2 separate regions of the Homo sapiens genome follow, and region 2 is linked to region 1. The links are contacts of gene promoters, found by promoter capture Hi-C in human tissues and cell types (Jung and others, 2019). All regions are on one chromosome and are shown on one strand. The core of a region is centred on a gene start or on the middle of the fragment in contact, and the rest is flanking DNA. Distances in the headings are between cores, read along the strand shown.

Region 1 (4,138 bases), core at 208-2,707:
CTCACACTGTCACCCAGGCTGGATTGGAGTACAGTGGCACGATCATAGCTCACTGCAGCCTCAAACCCCTGGGTTCAAGAGATCCTTCCACCATAGCCTCCCCAGTAGCTGGGACTACAGACATGTGTCATTACATCTGGCTAGTTTTATTTATTTTCTATTTTTTTATTTTTTATAGAGACAGGGTCTCGCCATGTTGCCAAGGCTGGTCTCAAACTCCTGGGCTCAAGTGATTCTCCCACCTCGGCCTCGCAAAGTGCTGGGATTACAGGCATGAGCCACCGCACCCGGCCAGGACTGGGTGCATTTTGAGTCCCCGGGATAGACATGCTAATGTGCTTACCTATGTGTTTCACACCATCCATGATTGACCGAAAGAACTTGCGGACCCGGTCAGCCACCTCTTTGGTCTTCCGGGCAATAGCTTTAATCTTGTTCAGGGCACCTGATGGGTGAGGGACAGAGGCACTTTGGAGTCTTCTCCTCTAGGGGCTGGTTCTCACCATTGCCCCTTAAGCAGGGAGTAGAGAGGAGGCCACCATTTCCAGAGGCGGGAAGCCTGGATTCTGGGGCCTGGGAGATCGTTAATCTGGGAGTGGAGGAGGCCAGAGAGCAAGGAGAGAGGGTTTAGCTGTGCCCAGAGTCCCTTCCAGGCCCAGATGCTCCGCGATTAGCACCAGCAGAGAAGGAGGCCAAAGGACTGTAGAACATGCAGGATGAGGGGGGCGAGGGGGGCCCGTGGGAGACAGTGGTAGAGGTGGGGGACTTACTGACAAGAGGTTGCTTGGCCCTCTGTAGCACTTCGGCGGTCTGGTTCAGGGCCAGCTCTGCCCCACAGGCTACAGCCTCGCTGGCCCGGGTGAAGTTGCGTAGAGTGTTGGCACAAGGCCCTTGAAGCACCAACCCAAAAGCAGCCACCAACAGTAGTGTCCGGCCCTGCCCTGGGGGCGACAGCTTTGTTAGAACCAAGACCCCAGCCCCAAACATGGCAGCAAGTCCCTTACATAAGCCTTCAGAATATTTCCCTTAACCCCTGCCTCTCCTCCAGCATCTCTTCTGCCCCAGCACCAGCCCCAGGACCTGCCCCCTAGCCCTGGGTGCCAAGCTCACTGGAGAAGGCCTGAGGCAGCAGCAGGAGGACAGTGGCTCGGACCTGGCGAGAGAATCCCATGCCCAGGCTAAGGAAGGCAGCCAAAGTGAGGGTGCCCACCAGGCAACCCCAGGGGCTGTGGCCTTCCACCAGTAGCTCCAGAAGCCCGTAGGCCGTGGCTAAAGACAAGCCCAGGGTAAAACCTCCCACGCTGCGAACCACAGCTCTCGCCATGCTAGGCTCCTCTCCCCCCAAGGGGTGCACAACATCCTTCATGACTTTGGGCATGGCTGCTGAGACCAAATGTCTGCCTGTCTCCAGGAGATGCCCGCTGACTTCTGTGCTCCTGGAATTTCTCACCGTATTCTAAGGTTCCAAAGGGCTTTCACTGCATATGTCTTGGAATCCTTGACCCAGTTCCGAGGACTGGAGAGGGGATAGGTAGGTCTCTAATCTCCTTCCCCACTTCTCGGAGCAGAAGGATTAAAAGGCCCAGAGCTCAGGCCTAGGCTTCCCATGAAGCGGAAGAGACAGGCAGCACCTCTCTTCTCTCACCAGAACCTTGTGTCCAAGGAGGTCCTTCAGGAGACCTGGGATGAGTGGTGCTTCCCCAAAACAGACTCATGGACATTAAACATCATCAGAATGGCACAAGAGGGCAAAGAAGAAAACAGCCTCATACCAGTGAGTCACTCAGCAGAGACCCAGTATCCCTTGACCTCCACTCTCATCCCATCTCTCCTCCTGGAACTCCTGCACACTATCCCCCAACTCGGTGTCCGCGCCTCCACCACCTCTCTGGTCTAGTGCCTCCCGCCTCCCAGCCCAGCCCTTGCCTTTGCTGTCCCTTACACCCATACCACTTCCTCAGGCTCCCTCATCCTCCTCCAGGGTCCCCTAAGTTCCTACTGTTTCACATGCCAGGTTTCCCCAGCCTCTATCCACCTGCAAGCCCTGAATCCTAATGAGCCCCATCCCAGGCAGAAGAGTGGGCTGTTGAGCTACCCTGTCCCCCTCTTAGCGGTGCAGAGGCTCCTGACCTGGGGGCTGCCAGTCTCCTGTAGCTGGTTCCTGTGGCGCCAGCCGGGCGAGTTTCCTGTCACTGCTCTCCTGCTGGGGGCAGGCGCTGGGGGGCTCCTGGCCATAGGTGAGTGTGGAAGCAGAAAGTTCGGGGTGGGCAGAGGCTGGACCAGGGCTAGGACCCATCTTTTGGCCTTTGGCTTGACCTTGTGCCCTTAGGTCTCTTTCAGCTCCTGGTGAACCCCATGAACATCTACGAAGAACAGAAGATTATGTTCTTGTACAGCTTGGTGGGTTAGTGCTGGGCAAAAGCCAGGAACACTCAAGCGGCCTGTGGAACACAGCGCCGTCCTGCATGCCCAGGAAGGAGTCGGGACTTGTTTCTTCTGTACCCATACATCCCCTGTGGCTTCCGCCTCCTCCTGGGCTTTACGGGGAGGTCCAGAGGGAAGAGGCTGCCAATTTAAGAAGGAAGACACCGTCCTTGCCCTGAGGGAGTCTCTCCATTCCGAGGGACTCCCCATCACCCACATGATATAGTCCAACCCCATAACCCTTCATAACTCTCATCTCTCCTGACCTGTCTGACCTCGTTTTCTGATCCTCCTAAGAAATTAAATTCATTCATTCATTCATTCATTCACTCAGCACTTACTGAGAATCTGCTGAGGATTTAGCAGTAAACAAGGATGACAAGCATCCAGCCGTTTTGCTTTGGTTTTGTTTGTATGTTTTTGTTTTCGTTTTGAGACGGAGTCTCGCTCTGTTGCCCAGGCTGGAGTGCAGTGGCTCAATCTCAGCTCACTGCAACCTCCACCTCCCAGGTTCAAGCCATTCTCCTGCTCAGCCTCCCAAGTAGCTGGGATTACAGGCACCCATCACCATGCCCAGCTAATTTTTGTATTTTTAGTAGAGACGGGGTTTCTGTATGTTGGCCAGGCAGGTCTCGAACTTCTGACCTCAAAAGATCTACCTGCCTCGGCCTCCCAAAGTTCTGGGATTACAGGTGTAAGCCACCGTGCCCAGCCCAGTTTGGATAATTTAACAGCTCAGTAGCTTCGAGAAGGACTCAGGTTCCTTCTGTCTTTTCTCTGCCATCTTCAGTCTATTGACCACTTCTCTTCAGGTCACAAGATAGCTGCAGCAACTCTGGCATCACATCTTCATACAATAATATCAAAGATCAGAAAAAAATAAAAAAAGAGGAAGAAACAGGCCAGGCACAATGGCTCACGCCTGTAATCCCAGCACTTTGGGAGGCTGAGGCGGGTGGATCACCTGAGGTCAGGAGTTTGAGACCAGCCTGGCCAACATGGTGAAACCCTGTCTCCACTAAAAATACAAAAATTAGCCGGATGTGGTGGTGCACACCTGTAGTCCCAGCTTCTTGGGAGGCTGAGGCAGGAGGCTTGCTTGAACCCAGGAGGCAGAGATTGCAGTGAGTGGAGATCGTGCCACTGCACTCCAGCCTGGGTGACAAGAGCGAAAGGCCATCTCAAAAAAAAGAAAAGAATAGAAGTTCAATCCCAGGCCCAACTTCACTGTCTTGGGCTGTGCGATTTGAGGCCAGGGAAAAAGGAAAATGACCTAGGTGACAGAGTGAAACTCTGTCTCAAAAAAAAAAAAAAAAAAAAAAAAGGAAGAAACATCCTTTCCTCATGTCTCTTTTTAGGAACAAGGGAAACTTGCCTATAATCCCCACAGTAGACTTCCTCACATCTCTTTGGTCAGAACTGCGTGCAACACATGCCCTTTCCTGAACCTGTCCCAGGCAAGGGAAATAGAATTAGCATTTCATCACCTGTTTATTGAATTAATCCTGCTGGATACCAACAGGAGACTACTTTTTCTCTGACCCACTGTATTCAAACATGTTTTTTCCCATTGATAACCTTTCACACAGCCCCTTAGATTTCTGGTTGTATTTCTTTAGAAGACCTAGTCCTACTTCAACAATTAAGACTTATTTTTAGGGGTTAAAGAGGTCCAGTCCACTCTACATCAGACTTTTAACCTCATCCATTCTCA
Region 2 (4,188 bases), core at 307-2,806, 1.1 Mb before region 1:
AGACTATAAACAGATGTGTAAGCGATCAAGGCAATATCCCAAAATAAGAGCTGTTGAATGAGAACAGCAATGGAGACACAGAAGAAGCTAGATTCAGAAATATTTAGAAAGTAATAGGTAAGACAGAAGTGACAATGATGCTCACATTTCTGGTTTAGATGACTCAATGAATCACAGGGAAGAAATGATGTTGGAAATGTTGAGTTTGAGTACCAACTTGATACAAAGGTATAGATACGTCTAGCTCACAGTAGACAACCGGAAACAAAGGGCTGGAGTTTAGGAGAGAAATGATAATATATTGAATATATATGAAGTTTTTTTCAATAATCAAGTGTATTTTACCATTTTAACGGGAAGGCAATAATTTCATCATTATTTGCATTATGCTTTAAAGTTCACAAAACATTTTATGCTTGTATTTCATACTTTTGTTACATACAAACATGAGATTAGTATGACAGGTTATTTTTATTCCTATTGGATCAACAAACTTTTATTTGTTTATTTATTTATTTTTGAGAGAGAGTCTCACTCTGTTGACCAGGCTAGAGCACAGTGGCACAATCTCGGCTCACTGCAACCTCTGCCTCCCGGGTTCAAGCTATTCTCTGCCTCAGCCCCCCGAGTAGCTGGGATTACAGGCGCCCACCACCATGTCTGGCTAATTTTTGTATTATTAGTAGAGATGGGGTTTCACCATTTTGGCCAGGCGGGTCTTGAACTCCTGACCTCGTGATCTACCCCCCTCGGCCTCCCAAAGTACTAGGAATACAGGTGTGAGCCCCCGCACCCGGCCTATTTTTTTTTGAAACTGAGTCACACGCTGTCACCCAGGCTGGAGTGCAATGGCACGATCTCAGCTCACTGCAACCTCCACCTCCTGGGTTCAAGCAATTCTCTGCCTCAGCCTCCCGAGTAGCTGGGATTACAGGCAACTGCCACCATGTCTGGCTAATTTTTGTATTTTTAGTAGAGATGGGGTTTCACCATCTCGGCCAGGCTGGTCTTGAACTCCTGACCTCATGATACACCCGCCTCGGCCTCCCAAAGTGCTGGGATTTCAGGTGTGAGCCACCATGCCCCACATATCTTTTTTTTTTTTTGAAACTGAGTCTCACGCTATCACCCAGGCTGGAGTGCAATGGTGCAATCTCGACTCACTGCAACCTCCACCTCCCAGGTTCAAGCTATTCTCCTGCCTCGGCCTCTCAAGTAGCTGGGATTACAGGTGCCCACTGCCACGCCCAGCTAATTTTTGTATTTTTAGTAGACACGGGGTTTCACCATGTTGGCTAGGCTGGTCTCGAACTCCTGACCTCATGTGATCCGCCCGCCTCAGCCTCCCAAAGTGCTGGGATTACAGGCATGAGCCACCAACCCCGGCCAACAAACATTTATTATTAACTACATGCCAGGCACTGTACTAGGCACTAAACAAATTACCAAAACAAATCCATGCCTTCTAAGACCTACATCATAGAAAGAGAACCAATAGGCAATAAATGTAACAAATAAATATATTATAAAAGTGTTAAGTCCTATGAAAAAGAAAATAGAGCAGGCAAGGATAAGCATGAGGGATGGGAACTGACAATACAATTTTAAAGAAAGGAAGGATAAGACTTCATTAAAAAGGTGACATTTAAGCAAAGACGTTAAGGAGGTGAGGCAATCAGCCATTCTCTGTGGGGAAACCTAGCTGTTTTCCCACTAGAAGGAATCACTTGGTCTTAGGAACCTGCCAAGGTTCTAAGATAGAGTGTGACTGATCAGCATTCAAGGAGCAAGTCAGTGTGGCTGGAATGGAGAGAGCAAGAGGGAAGATGACAGCCGATCAAAAATGGAAGAGGTTGGGGAGGGCAAACCATGTAAAGCCTTAAAGGCTATTGCAAGGACTGGCATTACTCTGTCTGCAAGAAATGAGAATTCAAAAATTAGTAGCATTACCCAAAATCAGTTAGCTAATAAATCACAAAGCTAGAATTCAACCCAGGACTTCAAGGCTCTCCACAACCTGTGTTCCACTAGTCCAATCTGCCACATATTAGTTCATCCCCTCTCTTTCAGCAAGTTTGAGTTTAAATACTCTAAAAATGCTAACATTATAAAAATCCTCTGGGCAAGAGATGCACAAGTCTTTCAGTTAACATTTGCAATCCTTCACAATTATAATGAGAATTTATTAATCCTGGTGTCTAATCTAAATCCTACTAACATTCCAGCATGTATTTTTAAAGATTATAAATTCCACCCTCCCTTGAAATGAGACAAGCCGAAGAAAGCTTTGATCAAAAGATTTAAAGTACGACTCTCAGCTTTAGGTAACAGTAACCTGAATTATTTTTTTAAATGGATACTAAGGCCGGGCACAATGGCTCCATGCCTGTAATCCCAGCACTTTGGGAGGCTGAGGTGGGCAGATCACCTGAGGTCAGGAGTTCGAGACCAGCCTGGCCAACATGGTGAAACCGTCTCTACTAAAAATACAAAAATTAGCCAGGCATGGTGACAGGTGACTGTAATCCCAGCTACTTGGGAGGTTGAGGCAGGAGAATCACTTGAACCCAGGAGGCAGAGGTTGCACTGAGCTGAGATCACACCACTGCACTCCAGCCTGGGCAACAAGAGCAAAACTCCATCTCAAAAAATATAAAATAAAATAAAATAAAATGGAACTAGCCAGGTGTGAAAAACAGTAAGAGAATGGCTCAGGAATATGGAATTGCTATAATTTCCCTTAATTTCTTTAGCAGTTTACTAGTTATTATTAATAACAAGTTCACACATTGTCAAAGATGCTTCTGCAGTTACTATGATTCTTTGAGGTCTGGATCTGACCACTTCATATCTCAAAAGTAACGAATGATGTGTTCTTAGTAATCTGCTGCTTTTTGTACTATAACCCAAAACTGTTGATAGTTTCTTGCCAGCTGATGGCAACCTAGGTAAATGGCAAAGGTAAGGGGGATTTTGTGAGAGACAGCAAACATTACCAAGCCACCATCTAAATACCTCAGACAGGTTAAAAGCCCTAATGACCCTGGGACACTCCCTTCTTACTGGATGAATTCAAGCTATACAGGAATATTTCATATATCCACAAGGGAGAAGGTAAAAGATGGAACATGAGGAGGGGTCTGTTTCAAATCAGACCTATTCTTCAGAAGCTTTCATCACTGCTACACAAAGAAAGGAGGTTGCTGCTTCAAGGATTCTGGAGCCACCAAAATCCCCAAACAGGACCTACAGAAAAAGCTTCACAGAGACTACTGAGGATAAACCAAATAATATGGCTAATAGAAGATACACCACAAAATCCAGTCATTGTAACATAAACTGAACTTCCTTATATATCTTTTCCTAGGCTTAGCCAAAAGCAGGAGAACTGCAACTCTATGTGGTATTGTCTGATAGACTGGATTTTTTCCCCAAGCAAGAGGTGGACAGCTTTATGCCAGGACTAGATTTACAGTCAATCTGGGTGTGTGTCTTTACTTTTTCTTTCCCTCCAAACTACCTCAGAAAATGTCTGGCTATTGTGCCTTGATATGTAATAATGCAGGGCTTTAAGTACTGCAAAGGTCTGGAAAAGAAAGTCCCTCAGTCCCAGTTATGGCTCAAATCTTACGATTTCTCTAGCAGTTGTTTTAATCAACCAAAGCTGGTTGGCTTTTCTCAATGAGCCAAGCAACATGAGCCTTCTAAGTTAAGCGCAGAGGGGCTGCTTGTCAGCATGACTCCCAATGGGGTGGCTAACATGGAATATGCTCCAGAGTCTAGAAATCAGGACAGCACAGCTGCTGTTTTCCTCCACATGCACCTCCAGCTTGGTGGGTGGGGGAGGAAAGGAAGAAGAATCAGTAAATTGAAACAGGAGGAATGCTTTACATGCAACACACAAGACTCACTGCTTAAAGGTGAGATGAATTCAGAGGTCTCAACACATGATTAGGATACCTTCACTGACACAATGGTCCCCAAAATTCAACCTGGAGGTCCAGCCTTGCCCGTCTGGCAAAAAAAGGGGAGAAGGGGGCAAAACCCCAAAATGGGGGACAGCATACAAGCTTTTGAAAGTACTTTAAGGTTGTGAGGCTCAGAACAAATTCCTCACACTTCCCTCTGCCACCACCCTGTGGCCCTATGCTAAGCACAGCAGTAAAAGTTACTGCCAGAATTTAGATT

The links. The method cuts DNA at HindIII sites, captures the fragments that hold promoters and counts their contacts. A contact is called where the count stands out against the background at its distance.
Region 2: a fragment that was not itself captured here is called in contact with the fragment with the promoter of DCST2 in region 1 in 1 of the 25 tissues and cell types used here (dorsolateral prefrontal cortex).

The regions. Positions count from the first base shown.
Region 1 is chr1:155,032,324-155,036,461 of GRCh38, forward strand. It overlaps DCST2 (DC-STAMP domain containing 2), which reads right to left and starts at 1,458. Exons shown (of 15, transcript NM_144622.3): 1 at 1,111-1,458; 2 at 771-941; 3 at 344-445. The coding sequence starts at 1,378. DCST1 (DC-STAMP domain containing 1) reads left to right here and starts at 1,501. Exons shown (of 17, transcript NM_152494.4): 1 at 1,501-1,531; 2 at 1,649-1,774; 3 at 2,112-2,237; 4 at 2,330-2,404. The coding sequence starts at 1,714. The HindIII fragment of the contact is 8,066 bases long and covers 1-4,053 here.
Region 2 is chr1:153,916,307-153,920,494 of GRCh38, forward strand. All of the region lies in intron 1 of GATAD2B (GATA zinc finger domain containing 2B), which reads right to left. Among named protein-coding and RNA genes, the nearest start is that of GATAD2B, 4.6 kb to the right of the region's middle. The HindIII fragment of the contact is 5,978 bases long and covers 1-4,188 here.